Regions from separate parts of the Homo sapiens genome. Here regions 1, 3 and 4 are each linked to region 2. The links are contacts of gene promoters, found by promoter capture Hi-C in human tissues and cell types (Jung and others, 2019). All regions are on one chromosome and are shown on one strand. The core of a region is centred on a gene start or on the middle of the fragment in contact, and the rest is flanking DNA. Distances in the headings are between cores, read along the strand shown. Region 1 overlaps SUSD1 (sushi domain containing 1). Region 2 holds the start of KIAA1958. Region 3 has its middle 32 kb from the start of LINC02977. Region 4 overlaps SUSD1 (sushi domain containing 1).

Evidence for each region. Contacts are between HindIII fragments. The study calls those that stand out against the background at their distance.
Region 1: a contact is called between a fragment that was not itself captured here and the fragment with the promoter of KIAA1958 in region 2, in 1 of the 25 tissues and cell types used here (aorta).
Region 3: a fragment that was not itself captured here is called in contact with the fragment with the promoter of KIAA1958 in region 2 in 1 of the 25 tissues and cell types used here (H1 embryonic stem cells).
Region 4: a contact is called between a fragment that was not itself captured here and the fragment with the promoter of KIAA1958 in region 2, in 1 of the 25 tissues and cell types used here (mesendoderm cells).

The regions. Positions count from the first base shown.
Region 1 is chr9:112,074,007-112,077,637 of GRCh38, forward strand. All of the region lies in intron 12 of SUSD1 (sushi domain containing 1), which reads right to left. Among named protein-coding and RNA genes, the nearest start is that of LINC02977, 35 kb to the left of the region's middle. RefSeq lists an enhancer at 3,085-3,184. The HindIII fragment of the contact is 3,586 bases long and covers 160-3,631 here.
Region 2 is chr9:112,484,839-112,488,076 of GRCh38, forward strand. It overlaps KIAA1958, which reads left to right and starts at 1,989. Exons shown (of 4, transcript NM_133465.4): 1 at 1,989-2,280. It overlaps HSDL2-AS1 (HSDL2 antisense RNA 1), which reads right to left and starts at 2,806. Exons shown (of 5, transcript NR_171779.1): 1 at 2,141-2,806; 2 at 1,552-1,703. RefSeq lists an enhancer at 1,468-1,527 and silencers at 1,958-2,017, 2,098-2,587. The HindIII fragment of the contact is 14,239 bases long and covers 1-3,238 here.
Region 3 is chr9:112,006,864-112,010,284 of GRCh38, forward strand. No RefSeq gene overlaps it. Among named protein-coding and RNA genes, the nearest start is that of LINC02977, 32 kb to the right of the region's middle. The HindIII fragment of the contact is 4,293 bases long and covers 1-3,421 here.
Region 4 is chr9:112,120,658-112,124,272 of GRCh38, forward strand. It overlaps SUSD1 (sushi domain containing 1), which reads right to left. Exons shown (of 17, transcript NM_022486.5): 6 at 3,600-3,615. Among named protein-coding and RNA genes, the nearest start is that of SUSD1, 53 kb to the right of the region's middle. RefSeq lists an enhancer at 1-408. The HindIII fragment of the contact is 3,498 bases long and covers 1-3,007 here.

The DNA of each region.
Region 1 (3,631 bases), core at 703-3,202, 410 kb before region 2:
AGGAGTTCAAGATCAGCCTGGCCAACATGGTGAAACCCCATCTCTACTAAACATATAAAATTAGCCAAGCGTGGTGGCACACACCTGTAATCCCAGCTACTTGGGAGGCTGAGACATAAGAATCACTTGAACTCAGGAGGTGGAGGTTGCAGTGAGCTCAGATCACGCCACTGCACTCCAGCCTGGGTGACAGAGCGAAATTCTGTCTCAAAACAAAAAAAAAGAAAAAGAAAATAGCACACTCAACATGTGGATGCTCTTCTGACTCTTTGGGGCCTGCATCAAGGATGAAAGTTTGTTCCTCACCCTGTCCTAAAGGGGATGCGTGCCGTGGGGCTATCCTGAAGAATTCAGTTCAATGTGCCGTCTGCAGCCTATCAGCCAAGAGTCAGAAACACCGTGAGGCCACAGCTCCATCTCACCCACCCCCTCGCCAGCCCCTGCTTTCCTGCATTCACCGAAACACTTGCCTCTGTCCCTCAACATTCCTAGAACCTTCACTGTCCTCTGAGGTCAGCGATGTATTTAAAGCACTTGTTTTCATCCTGTTCCCATCAGTAAGATTTAACGTAAGACACTCAGAAGGGAAATTCCACTCTCTTTCCTTCTGGGAAATGAGCAGCTACATTGTCCAGACCCAAATCCTTAGCCTAACACATCTGCCAAAATTCAAAAGTTCATGATTTTACCGAAATAAGGCCACACACTTCTTAGGAAACCACGAGTATCTCTGCACATCAACACATAAGCTTCTCTTTTTTCCTCCTTTTATAAAAGAAAGGGGTTGGTTTTTTTTTTTTTTTAACTCTTTCATAAGATCAAAGCAACTTGATTTTTTTATGCTTCTTTAAAATTACGAGTCCTTTAAAGTGGGTAGAGTTGGAAAATAGGCATCTCAATGAACATTAAACAGCTCAACAATGTCCCCTGGTGGCCATGAGCACAGAGAGAGGGAACTTGAGCCACTAAAGCTCTATTCAGCCTACCAAACAAGGAGTAAGTGTCTCATCAAGATGAAACCCCCTCCCCTTTACTCAAAAAAATATGCAACGGTCCTTCAAACCAGAAAAGCACAGCATCCAAATATGAGAAAGACCACAGAGTAGGAAATGGAGATGGAGTCGCTATTCATTTTAATAAGTCACCACAGAAAGAAATGCCCAGACTGAACACCACTTGTCTCTCCAGCCCAAAATGTGGGGAATTCTTTCTGGTAGCCAGAATTCATTGCCTAACCAGACATCTCCTCAACACCAATACCACCCACTGGCTGTTATTTTAAAATTTTGGGCTGTTATGCTATCTATCAGTACCATTCTTACCCACTGAGGGTTGAATGTAAAACATACAGACAAAAATCACTGTCTTCAGGAAGCTCCTATTTTAGTGGGAGAGAAAGAAAATAAAAAAAAAATAAGTTTTTAGAAAACAAGCTCTAGGCTGGGCACAGAGACTCATGCCTATAATCTCAGCACTTTGGGAGGTGAGATGGGAGGATCACTTGAGGCCAGAAGTTCAAGACCAGCCTAGGCAACATAGGGAGACCCTCATCTCTACAAAAAATAAAAACAAAAAAATCCCTTTTGTAATTAGCCAGGCATGGTGGTGAGCGCCTATAGTCCCAGCTACTCAGCAGGCTGAGGCAGAAGGATTGCTACAGCCCAGGGGCTCAAGGCTGCAGTGAGTTATGATTGCACCACTGCACTCCAGCCTGGGTGACAGAGTGAGACCCTATCTCTAAAAACTAATAATTAATATTTTTTATTAATATGAAGCTCTATGAAGAAATTGAAGCAGGGTAAGTAGATACAGAGTACTAGCGTGGAGGCTGGTGATGGCAGTTGAGCAGGCACCTGAACAACTATGGAGAAGCCATATGTTGACAGTGTCCCAGGAAGTGTGAACTGCAGATGGAAAAGTCTGGAGGCTGGAAAAACTTTGACCCATTGAAGGAACTGCAAGAAGGCCAGGGAGACAGCTGATGCTTAATGGGAAAGGAGGAGAGCAGGGGGAGATGAATTAGAAGTAGGCAGGGGCCAGATGACATGTCCTATGATGAGGAACTTGGATTCCATTCTAACTTTAATGGAAACTCACTGGAGAGTTTTGAGCTGGTGCTGACATGTTCCCAAATGCATTTTTAAAAGATCACTCTGAGTGCTGAGTGATCTTTTGAAAGTTATGGTGAAGACTAAGACTAAGGTCCAGGGTGGGAGGTATATAGGCAAGAGAAAACCAGTTTGAAAACTACAGCAGGAATCCAAGCAAGAGGTGGCTGTCTTGGATTAGGGTAGTTGTGGAAAAGGCACAGGTGGGGAGAAGTGGTGGAATTCAGAATATATTTCAGACAGCAAGCCAACAGGGCTTGTTGACAGATTAGAAATTTGGGGATGGGATAGAACCAATTAGGACTTGTTTTTGGTCTGAACAATTGGGTGAACAGAAATTCCAATAACAGACAGAAAGTAACAGATAGAAACAGAGAAGCCTGGGTGGAAACCGATTTGGGGGCGAGGGCAGAGGTGAGAAATCACAAGTTCCGTTTGATTTGCGTATTAGATGTTCAATAGGACATGTGTAGAAGTTGGGTGGATATAGGAGTCTGGTGCTCAAAGGAGAGGCTGGGACTAGAAATTGATCTTTGGAAATCCTCTGCATATAGGTAATAGTTATAGCCATAAGACTGGTTGAGATCACCTAAGCAGAAAGGGTAGATAATGAAGAAAAGGAGGCTGAAGAGGGGTCATAAAAGTAGATGGAGCTAGCAAAGAAGACTGAGAGGGGACAGCAAGGCAGAAGGAACCAAAACTAAGGGAGAGGGGGTTTCAAGAGGGAGGGAGTGTCAACGCTATCGAAGAAATCAGATAAGAACAAAACTGGCCATTGGATTTGGCAAGACGGAGATCAAACGAAGAGCCTTTCAGTAAAGCAATGAAGACGTATGTTTCCCACGTGGGATGAGTGAAAGTGAGAACAGGAGGTAGGGCTGTGGAGCCTACAGAACAGCCATTTCTTTCAAGGAGTTTTTATAGAAAGGGGCAGAGAGAAGGCAAAGTAGCTGAAGACAAATATGGGCTCAAAGAAGGTCTGCTCATTTTTTCTTTCTTTTCGTTCACAAGGAGGATGTTGCAACATGCTAGGCAATGCTGGGGATAATTCTGTATTGAGGGGAAGTGCTGATCAGGGAAGAAGGGATGGGATCTAAGGCACAAGTTGAGGGGATGGCAGCCTTACACACGAGCAGGGACAGGAAGGGAGGCAGAACAGGATGCAAGGAGGAACGGCAGGGCTGAGCGTGGGAAGTCCTCACCTGACTACTTCTAATTTCTCAGTGAAATAAGAATCAAGAAGCTAATATGCTTAGTATTTGCTCAGAGCATGTGTGAAGTGGGGGTCACAGATGTGAAGAGGGAGGAGAAAATGAGTGGAAAGTGAATTTACTGGGGCCCTATAGCCGGAGGACTACAATCATTGTCCCCTGATAGTAATCTACTTTTTTTTTTTTTTTTTTTTTTTTTTTTTTGAGATGGAGTTTTGCTCTTGTTGCCTAGGCTGGAGTGCGATCTCAGATCAACACAACCTCCACCTCCTGGGTTCAAGCAATTCTCCTGCCTCAGCCTCCCGAGTAGCT
Region 2 (3,238 bases), core at 739-3,238:
TATCACCATTTTCCCCTCCCTCTACCCTCTAGCAACCACTATTCTACCGTCTTGTTTCCACAAGTTTGACATAATCCCACAGTTTACATACCTCTACATAGTTCATATAGGTCAAATCATAACAGTATTTGTCCTTTTGTGACTGGTTTATTGCACTTGGCACAACATCCTCAAGGTTCATCTATGTTGTAGCCTGTGATAAGATTTCCTTCCTTTTTAAGGCTGAATAATATTCCATTATATGTATATATCACATTTTCATTCATCTCTTCATCTGTTGATGAACATTTGGGCTGCTTCAACCTCTTGGCTATTGTGAATAGTGCTGCAATGAACATGAATGTGCAAATATCTCTTCGATATCCTGCTTTCAATTCTTTTGGATATTTACCCAGAAGTGGGATTGCTGGATCATATGGTAGCTCTAGTTTTAGTTTTTTGAGGAACTTCCCCACTGTTTTGCATAGTGGTGGTACCATCTACATTCCTATCAGCATTGCATAAGAGTTCCAATTTCTCCACAAGATCCCATCTTTAGAATATGCAGCAATTAACTAGGGGGTTTTCATTTTTGGTCTTTTTTGTTTGTACAAACATTATTGTGTCAACATTTACACAGATTTTAAATTTCAGCCTAGACCTGGAAGAGTGTTGATAGAGGAAGGTGTTAAGAACATCAACCGGAATCAGCTCTAGAGATGGAGAGGGGTTGGCAGAAGCTACCTAAAAGAGAACATGCTTGATGTGGTAATGAAGTTACCTGCTTGGATTCTGGACGACCCTGGATATTTTCTCCTTTGCTAAGAAGTTAGCTTCTTTCTCTCCCTCAAAAATATTCTTCTCTTCCCTTACCTACTCCAAGGGTACAAGTGACTGGGGTATGCCTGTCACAGATGAGGTGAGGCCAAGATGTGGGCACTACGTAAGGCCTGACAGATATGGTGTAAATGTTATTTATTACCATGATTACTGTTTTGGAGATGGTCAGTGCTGTAAATAGAAAGGGAGTTAAGAGCAGACTCTGAAGCCAGACTGTCCGGAATGAATCCAGGCTCCTCTAGCTACTATCTATGTGATGTTGAAAAAATTTCTTAATTTCTCTGTGCCTCAGTTTCCTTATCATAAAATGGCAATGTTAATAGCACCCACTATGTAGAGTTCTTAGGATTAAATAAATTAATATTCGCTAAGTACTCAGTGCAAACTGTGGGCACACAGCAAGTACTACGAAAGTGTTAGGTAAAATAAAGGTGGACCAAGCCTGGTAGCACCTAGCAAGTCCAGCTTCATCTTTGCTGTGCTGAGTCGTGTAGGTGGTGTTCTTGTGTCTCTGGTTTGCTGGAGGACCTAGTTTTAGTGTATTTTAGGTATCATTAAGCATCCCCGCTCCCTCGATGGGATAGGGGTGTGTGTGTTACAGGTGGTTGTTGGGCACCTTCACGGGGCAGCGGTGACTATGGGCTGTACGTAGTATCTCGGTAGAAAGTGTTAATGCACATCCCTGGGCGGAGAGGTAACTCTACTCAATGCGTTATAAGGGAAATCACACACCTCACGGATGGTGTAGGTTCTGTCTGCTCCTTGCGTTTCAGTGGAGGTGCACAGAGCTCCGGGGGGCATCGGGGACCGCGGGCCCAGGACGTGTAGTAGGGAGCAGTGCTGTACACTTCCTCGGACCATAGCGGGGACGGCGGGTTCCACACCTGTCGGGGCAGTAGGGACTGAGCTCGTGCGCGCGGAGGATGGATTGCTCCAACCTCTCGGTCCAGCGCGCCGGCCGCCGCGTGCGAACGTGTGTGCGGCAGGAGGCTCGATCTACACCTCCTCGGGGCAGCAACGACTGCGAGCTCGGTGCGTGCCGTAGGAGGTGTCGTTACACACTTCCTGTGGGTCTCGCCGACCACGGCGCGTTTCCGGTGCCGGCTGGAGCCCGGGGTCCGAGCCCCCGCCCCGCTCGCCGGCCCCGCCCCGGCCCGCCCGCGCCCCGCCCCCTGCCCGCCCGCCGCGCTCCGAGCCGGGCGCGCGGAGCTCGGGGCGCACGGAGCGGCGCGCGGCGGTCGGCCGAGCCAGGCTGGCGCCCCCGCCCCCCGCCCCGCTCCTCGGTCCGCCGCCCGCCGGGCGCCTTCCCCGCTCCACTTACCTTTGGTGCCCGGCCCTCTGGCCGCTCTCCTCCCGCCCTCGCGCCCCTTCGGCCCGTCCCGTCCAGCCCGGGCTGCCCGGCTCTCGCAGGCCCCCCCGCGCCGACCGCGTTCCTATGGACAGACGCACAGACACCTGCAGGTGGGTGAGAGCCCGCGCGCGGGGCGGGGACGAGTGCGCCGACGCCGCGACCCAGGCGGGGAGCCCCTTTGTGTGGGGGGCGGCCGCGCCGGGGTCGACTCTGCTTCCCCGTCAGCGGCCGCGCGGTGACCCGGCTGAACCTTCCTTTTGTCTCCTCTCGGGGGAGCGAGGCCGGAGCGAGGGCAGGGACCCGGGCGGCCGCTCGTCGGCAGCGCCGGGCTTGGGGGTGCGAGGCGCAGAGACCCCCGGTGGCGGCTCCGGTCCGCCTGCCCCGGGCCGCCCCGCCGCCCGGCAGCTCGGGTCTCAGCGGCGGCTGCAGGCGCAGTGCGTGGGGCTGGCGCCCCCGCTCCTGCTCTTGGGTCTGTCGGAGGTGGGAAGGAGGGCGGGAAGGAGGAGGAAAAGGTCTGTCCTCTTAGTTTCCAAGTCTTGAGATGCTTATGGAGAAAGAGAGGTGGTTCAGGGCTCTGCCCCACTAGTTTTCCTCCTCGGGTGGCTCGCCGAGGTGCGTTTGGGGCGTGTGTGAAGGAACGTGCATGGCTTCGCTCCCTTATTTATTGTTTCTAACGGAGGAGGGCTTTCTCCAAAAGGCTCTTCCGCCCCCCCACCCCCATCTGAGGCTGCGCACAGTGATTTGTGTTTGTTATCAAATATATCGAGAAATGTATTCCCCTGGGTAGGAGGAGGTTGGACTGAACAACGTCAAACCAAAATCAAAGAATGTTTTTGGTTCCTTCAAGTCTTTTTTTTTCTTTAAGGTTTTAGATTGGGACTTTAAAAAAAATGAACGTGGCTGTGATTTTTACAATTATATGTATTTAGTGTGTGTGCGTGTGTGTGTGTGTGTGTGTGTGTGTGTTTTGAAGTTTAGGAGTAAAGTTTTGTTTTTTCCCGAACTCGTTAGGATTCGCAAGACGGAATCCTCTCCCGACGAAATAAACAGCTAACAAGCCAGTCAGGT
Region 3 (3,421 bases), core at 439-2,938, 480 kb before region 2:
CGCTGTTCTCTTGGGTATTCCCATCACAGCTATGATCATGAGATTATGCTGTGTTTGTTAGAGGCACAGTGGGAGGGTGAGAGAATGGTATTAATTCTCAGGACTAGTTACAACCCTCCAAAGAAGGGGAAAATGCGTGGTGCAAAGTGTTTTTTCCAAAGCTAGGCCTTATCTTGCCCGCAGTGTGGTAGCCACAGACAGGAGCGTCAGCAATTTTGTATGCCTCCTGCGTTGGACCGCAAAGGAGACAGAGGTGGTCCTAAAATGCACTTTCAGGCACTATCTCATTTAATTCTCACACTTCTGGAGGCATAGGGGTTGTTGCTGGAATTTTGCAGATGAGGAAATGAAGGCTTGAAAATGTTAATGATCGGCAGTGGTCATACAGCCAGTGGAAGAACCAGAGTTCGAACCCGGGTCGTGCTGATTCTTGTCCAGTATGGCTCACCTACCTGAGATTCAGTCCCTGAACTCAGAAACTCACAAGAAATGTATAAGTGTATCTCATTCTATTGTGCTTTGCTTGAGTGTACTTTACAGATATTGTGTTTTTTACAAATTGAAGTCTTGTGGCAACCCTGAGTCCAGCAGGCTATCGGTGCCAGTTTTCCAATGGCATGTGCTCACTTCATGTCTCAGTGTCACATTTTGATAATTTTGAAATATTTCAAACTTTTCCATTATTATGTCTGTTACAGTGATTTATGATCTGTGATCTTTGACGTTGCTATTGTAACTGTTTTGGGGTGCCACAAACCATGCCCATATAAGATGGTAAACATACTTGATAAATGTGTGTGTACTGACTGCCCCACCAACTGGCCATTTCTCTGTCTCTCTCACTCTCCTTGGCCTTCATAGGGAATAGGGATCCCCTGAGACACAACGATACTGAAATTAAATCAATTAATAACCCCACATCCGTCTGTAAGTGTTCAAGTCAAGGGGAGAGTCACACATTTCTCCCTTTAAATAAACACTAGAAATGATTAAGCTTAGTGAGGAAGGCATGTCAAAAACCAAAAAAGGCTCATAGCTAAGCCTCATGCGCCAGACAACCAAGTTGTGAATGCAAAGGAAAAGTTCTTGAAAGAAATTAAAAGTGCTACTCAGTGAACACACGAATGATAAGAAAGCAAAACAGCCTTATTGCTGATATAGAGAAAGTTCAAACGGTCTGTATAGAAGATCAAACCAGCCACAACATTCCCTTAAGCCACAGGCTAATCCAGAACAAGGGCCTAAGACTCTTCAGTTCTATGAGGCTAAGAGAGGTGAGGAAGCTTCAGAAGAAAAGCTTGAAACAAGCAGAGATTTGTTCATGAGGTTTAAGGGAAGAAGCTGGCCAAGCACAGTGGCTCATGCCTGTAATCCTAGCACTTTGATAGGCCAAGATGGGAGGATCACTTGTGCTCAAAAGTTCAAGACCAGCCTGGGCAATATAACAAGACCTCATCTCTATGAAAAATGATTTTTTTAAAATTGGCTGGGCATGGTGGTGCTCACCTATAGTCCCAGCTGCTTGGGAGGCTGAAATGGGAAGATCACTTGAGCCTGGAAGGTCAAGGCTGTAGTGAGCCATGATCATGCCACTGCACTCCAGCCTAGGTGACAGAGCAAACCCCTGTCTAAAAAAACAAACAAACCAAACAAGCAAACAAACAAACAAACAAACAAACAAACACAAGGAAAGAGGCTGTCTCCATAACATAAAAAAGTACAAGTTGAGGCAGTGCTGATACAGAAGCTATAGCAAGTTATCCAGAAGATGTAGAAGATGTAGCTAAGATCATTGATGAAGGTGGCTACACTAAACAACATATTTTGTAGATGAAACAACCTTCTATTGGAAGAAGATGCCATCTAGGACTTTCACAGCTAGAGAGAAGTCAATGCCTGACTTCAAAGCTTCAGAAGACAGGTTGACTCTCTCATTAGAAGCTAATACAGCTGTTGACTTTAAGTTAAAACCGATGCTCATTTACCATTCCCCAAATTCTAGGGTCTTAAGAATTATACAAAATGTACTCTGCCTGTAGAGAGTGCTAGATCACAAAACATCTGTTTACAGACTGGTTTGCTGAATGTTTTAAGCCCACTCTTGAGACCTATTGCTCAGGAAAAAAGATCCCTTTCAAAAGATAACTGCTCACTGACAACGTAACTAGTCACCCAAGAGTTCCCAAGAGTTCTGATTGAGATATAAAAGGAAATTAATGTCATTTTTATGCCTACTAACACAACATCCATTCTGCAGCCCATGGATCAAGGAGTCATTCTGACTTTCAAATCTTATTATTTAAGAAATACATTTCATAAGGTTGGATCTGTCATACGTTTCATAAGGCCAGACAGTGATTCCTCTGATGGATCTGGGCAAAGTAAATTGAAAAACTTCTGGTAAGGATTCATCATTCTAAATGCCTTTAAGAGCATTTGTGGGCCGGGTGCGGTGGCTCACGCCTGTAATCCCAGCACTTTGGGAGGCTGAGGTGGGTGGATCACCTGAGATCAGGAGTTCGAGACCAGCCTGGCCAACATGGTGAAACCCTGTCTTTACTAAAAATACAAAAATTAGCTGGGCGTGGTGGCAGGCACCTATAATCCCTGCTACTCAGGAGGTTGAGGCAGGAGAATTGCTTGACCTCGGGAGGTGGAGGTTGCAGTGAGCCCAGATTGCTTCATTGCACTCCAGTCTGGGCGACAGGAGTGAAACTCTGTCTCAATTAAGAAAAAAAAAAAAGCTTTTGTGATTCATAGGAAGAGGTCAAAATATCAATATTAACAGGAGTTTGGAAGAAACTGATTCTAACCCTCATGGATGACTTTGAGGGGTTCAATACATTAGTGGGGGGAAGTCACTGCAGATGTGGTGGAAATAACAAGAGAACTAGAATTAGAAGTGGCGCCTGAAGATGTGACTGAATTACTGCAATCTCATGATAAAACGTGAATGAATGAGGAATTGCTTCATATGTATGAGTAAAGAAAGTGGTTTCTTGAGATGAAATTGACATGTGGTGAATTTTCTGTGAACACTGTTGAAATGATAACAAAGGATTTAGAATATTACATAAACTTAGTTGAAGAAGTACTGGCAGGGTTTGCAAGGATTGACTCCATTTTTGAAAGAAGCTCTACTGTTAGTAAAATGCTATTAAACAGCATTGCACGCTACCAAGAAATCTTTCATGAAAGGAAGAATCAACCAATGCAACAAACTTCATTGTTGTCTTAGTTAAGAAATTTTCCCAGCCACCGCAACCTTTAGCAATCCCCACCCTGATGGGTCAGCAGTCAGCAACATTGAGGCAAGACCCCCCTCACCAGCAAAAATATTATGACTTGCTAAATGGCTCAGATGATCATTAGGCTCACATGATCATTAGCATTTTTAGCAATAAGGTATTTTTAAATTAAG
Region 4 (3,615 bases), core at 9-2,508, 360 kb before region 2:
AGCTGGAGCCACAGACTTTGTGAAAGGTAGCAGGCTGAGGATGGTAATTATAATTAGCAGTTACATAACATGTTTGTTCTTCAAAGTGCTCTACAAGCATCAGCTAATTAATAGCTTACTATGCCCCATGCAGATCCACTGGTTTTTCATGCGGTGACTAATTCTTATACCCCCATTGACTGCTGAATGTTGGAGGCAGAGCAGCTTGAGCAATGAAGCAAATGGCTGAGGCTCACAAGCTATACCCAGCTCTTACCAAGTGACTCCAGCAGTTGTTCTGTGTCGGGAATACTTCCCCAAACATTGAATTCAGCATTCCAGGAGGCAGCTACCTCACCTCCTCCAAATAACTCTTGGAGATGCTTTTGCAAATGCCATGATAGGTTGGAGTGACCATCAGTCTAGTCCAGCGTGGCATTAGCTCCAATTATTAAGACTGGACCCCCCTAGAGTCTTTGGTGTCAGTTACACGTTTGCCCTTGCTCCTCTGTGCAGGCTGGGCAAGTCAATGAGACCTCTCTAAGAGAAGACTGCATTGTATCTCTGGGTTCTTATCCAGCTCTACCCTTCTTTGTTTTTCTGATTGCAGTCTCTGGCCTACATCCTCTTGAATTCGCGATGGAGATAACCAAATATAGGAATTGCATGGCACATACAGGGCCTCAACAGCAGAGGTGAGCTTTCCATCTATCCCAAGAATGCTTTACTCAAGGATTTCAGAGGTCCAGGAACACCTTGCTACTTGTAAAACATTATATGTGTATGTGTATGTGCATACCTTTGGGGAAAAGGTCTGTTTCCCCTGTTGCACTGTAAATTCCAAGAGGGTCATGCCGACAAAGTACCTGACAAATAGTGTATGCTAAATAGATATCTATTGAATGAATGGACAGATTTCCTCAAATTCCCATCCCCAACATCGTTATGAACCACTGCTCTATGGACAAATAATCCCCAGGGGCCTACATGTCTTGTTTGCTCTGGCCAGAATTTCCGATGGAAAATGTTGGTGGGCAAGACCACAATTCTGCTGCTAGTCAAACCAGAGACCCAGATCAAAGCTCCTGGAGATTTCACTCTTCAGAGACCTGTCTTCAGAGCCAAGCAAGTCAACAGCCAGAAATATATTCCCAGGGACTATGTGACAACCATTTGTCATACCTTCTGATCAACCACCACAAATGGTAAGAATCATTGCCTTTTCTCACCTTGTTCCTCAGAGGCAGAGGTGTGAAATGAATCATGTAGAAGTACACGCTTCTGATTCATGAGAAGATCTTCACATGAGGCTAACAACTTTAGGAAAAAGACTAACATGTGCATGGTGCTTTCAGCTTTCTAAAATGCGCCCCACAGATTATCTTATTCGATTCCTTTTCAACACTCTCTGAGGTAAGAAAAACAGACTTTATTTCCCTCTTTTATAGATGAGGAAACCGAGGCTCAGAATGCCTGGCCTAATGACACACAGCTAATATATGGCATTGCTAGAATATGAAGTGAAGTCTCAAAACTCCTTTTTTAATTGAGACAGAGTCTCGCTCTATCCCCCAGGCTGGAGTACAGGGATGTGATCTTGGCTTACGACTGTCTCCTGGGTTCAAGCAATTCTCCTGCATCAGCCACCTGAGTACTGGGGACTACAGGTGTGCACCGCCACACCTGGCAAATTTTTAATTTTTTGTAGAGATGGGGTCTCTCTATGTCACCCAGGCTGGTCTTGAACTCCTGGGCTCAAGCAATCCTCCTGCCTTGGCCTCTCAAAGTGCTGGGATTACAGGTGTGAGCCACTGCACCCGGCTAATTTTTGTATTTTTAGTAGACATGGGGTTTCATCATGTTGGCCAGGCTGGTCTTGAACTCCTGACCTCAAGTGATCCACTGCCTCAGCCTCCCAAAGTACAGAGATTACAGGTATGAGCCATTGCACCAGGCCTCAAGACTCCTTTTCACCAGCAATTCCACTTCTGGATATATATCCAAAAGAATTGAAAACAGGGTCTCAAAGAGAGATTTGTACACACATTTCATAGCAGCATTATTCATCATAGCCAAAAGATGGAACACACACCCAAGTGTCCATCAACAAATGAATGGATAAACAAAACATGGGATACTCATATAATGGACTATATGAAGAATGGAAATGTTGACACATGTTACAACATGGATGTATCTTAAAGACATTATGCTTAGTGAAATAAGCCAGTCTCAAATGAACAAGTACCATATGAGATACCTACAGTAGTGAAATTCACAAGAGACAGAAAGTAGAAGGGTGAGGTTCCAGGGGCTGTGGGGAGGGGCAAATGGGGAGTTGTTGTTTAATGGGTATAAAGTTTCAGTTTTGCAAGATGAAAAAGTTCTGGAGATTGGTTGTGCAACAAGATTGGTATACATAAACACTACTGAACTGCACACTTAAAAATAGTTAAGATGGTGTATTCATCAGTTTCATGTTGCTATAAAGGAATACCTGAGACTAGGTAATTTATAAAGAAAAGAGGTTTATCCAGCTCATGGTTCTGCAGGCTGTACAAGAAGCATGGCACCAGCATCTGCTTCAGGTGAGGGCCCTGGGAAGTTGACAATCGTGGCAGAAGGTGAAGAGGGAGCAGGCATGTCACACAGCAAGAGAGGGAGCCAGAAAGAGAGAAGGAGGTGCCAGGTTCCTTTTAACAATCAGCTCTCATGTGAACTAAGAGCAAGAACTCATCACCAAGGGGAGGACACAAAGCCATTCCTGAGTGATCTACCCCCATGACCCAAACACTTCCCACCAGGCCCCACCTCCAACACTGGAGACCACATTTCTCATGAGATATGGAGGAGACAAACATCCAAACTATATTAGATGGTAAGCCAGGCATGGTGGCTCACACCTGTAATCCCAGCACTTTAGGAGGCCTAGGCAGGCAGATCACTTGAGACCTGGAGTTCGAGACCAGCCTGGGCAACATGGTGAAACCCCATCTCTACTAAAAATGCAAAAATTAGCTGGGCATGGTGGTGGGCACCTGTATTCCCAGCTACTCGGGAGGCTGAGGCAGGCGAATCACTTGGTCACTGCAACCCAGGAGGTGGAGGTTGCAGTGAGCTGAGATCGTGCCAGTGCACTCCAGCCAGGGTGACAGAGCAAGACTCCATCTCAAAAAAAGAAATAAAACTATATTAGATGTTAAATTGTATGTTTTTTGTGTGTTAACACAATTAAGAAACATTAAAAAACTATTTTTCGTCATACCACCTTTTCTCTGAAAAGCGGTCAACAGGTGTTAAGTTAGGAGCATGCCCCTCTGAGAAAATGGTTCATGGAGAAAAATGTCTCAGACAGTCAAGCAGAGGGGACAGGAATCACAGCGATTTAAGGTGGGTCTCAAAAGATGGATGCATAACATTTTCTATCCAACTTATTTTTCCAATCCACCTTCTAAATCTTCAGGATTTAGCTGACAAATCTAAAGCCAGGTGCACAACCAGGTAAATAGCCGAGCTGGGTACAGTATGTAGAGTGAAGCAGCAATCAGATAGTTTTAGGCCCTCGGCTCCCACTGGCTGTTTTGTTCCTGGGTAGCAGGAGCCCAGAACAGAATCTGTACCTGTGCATGTTAAAGT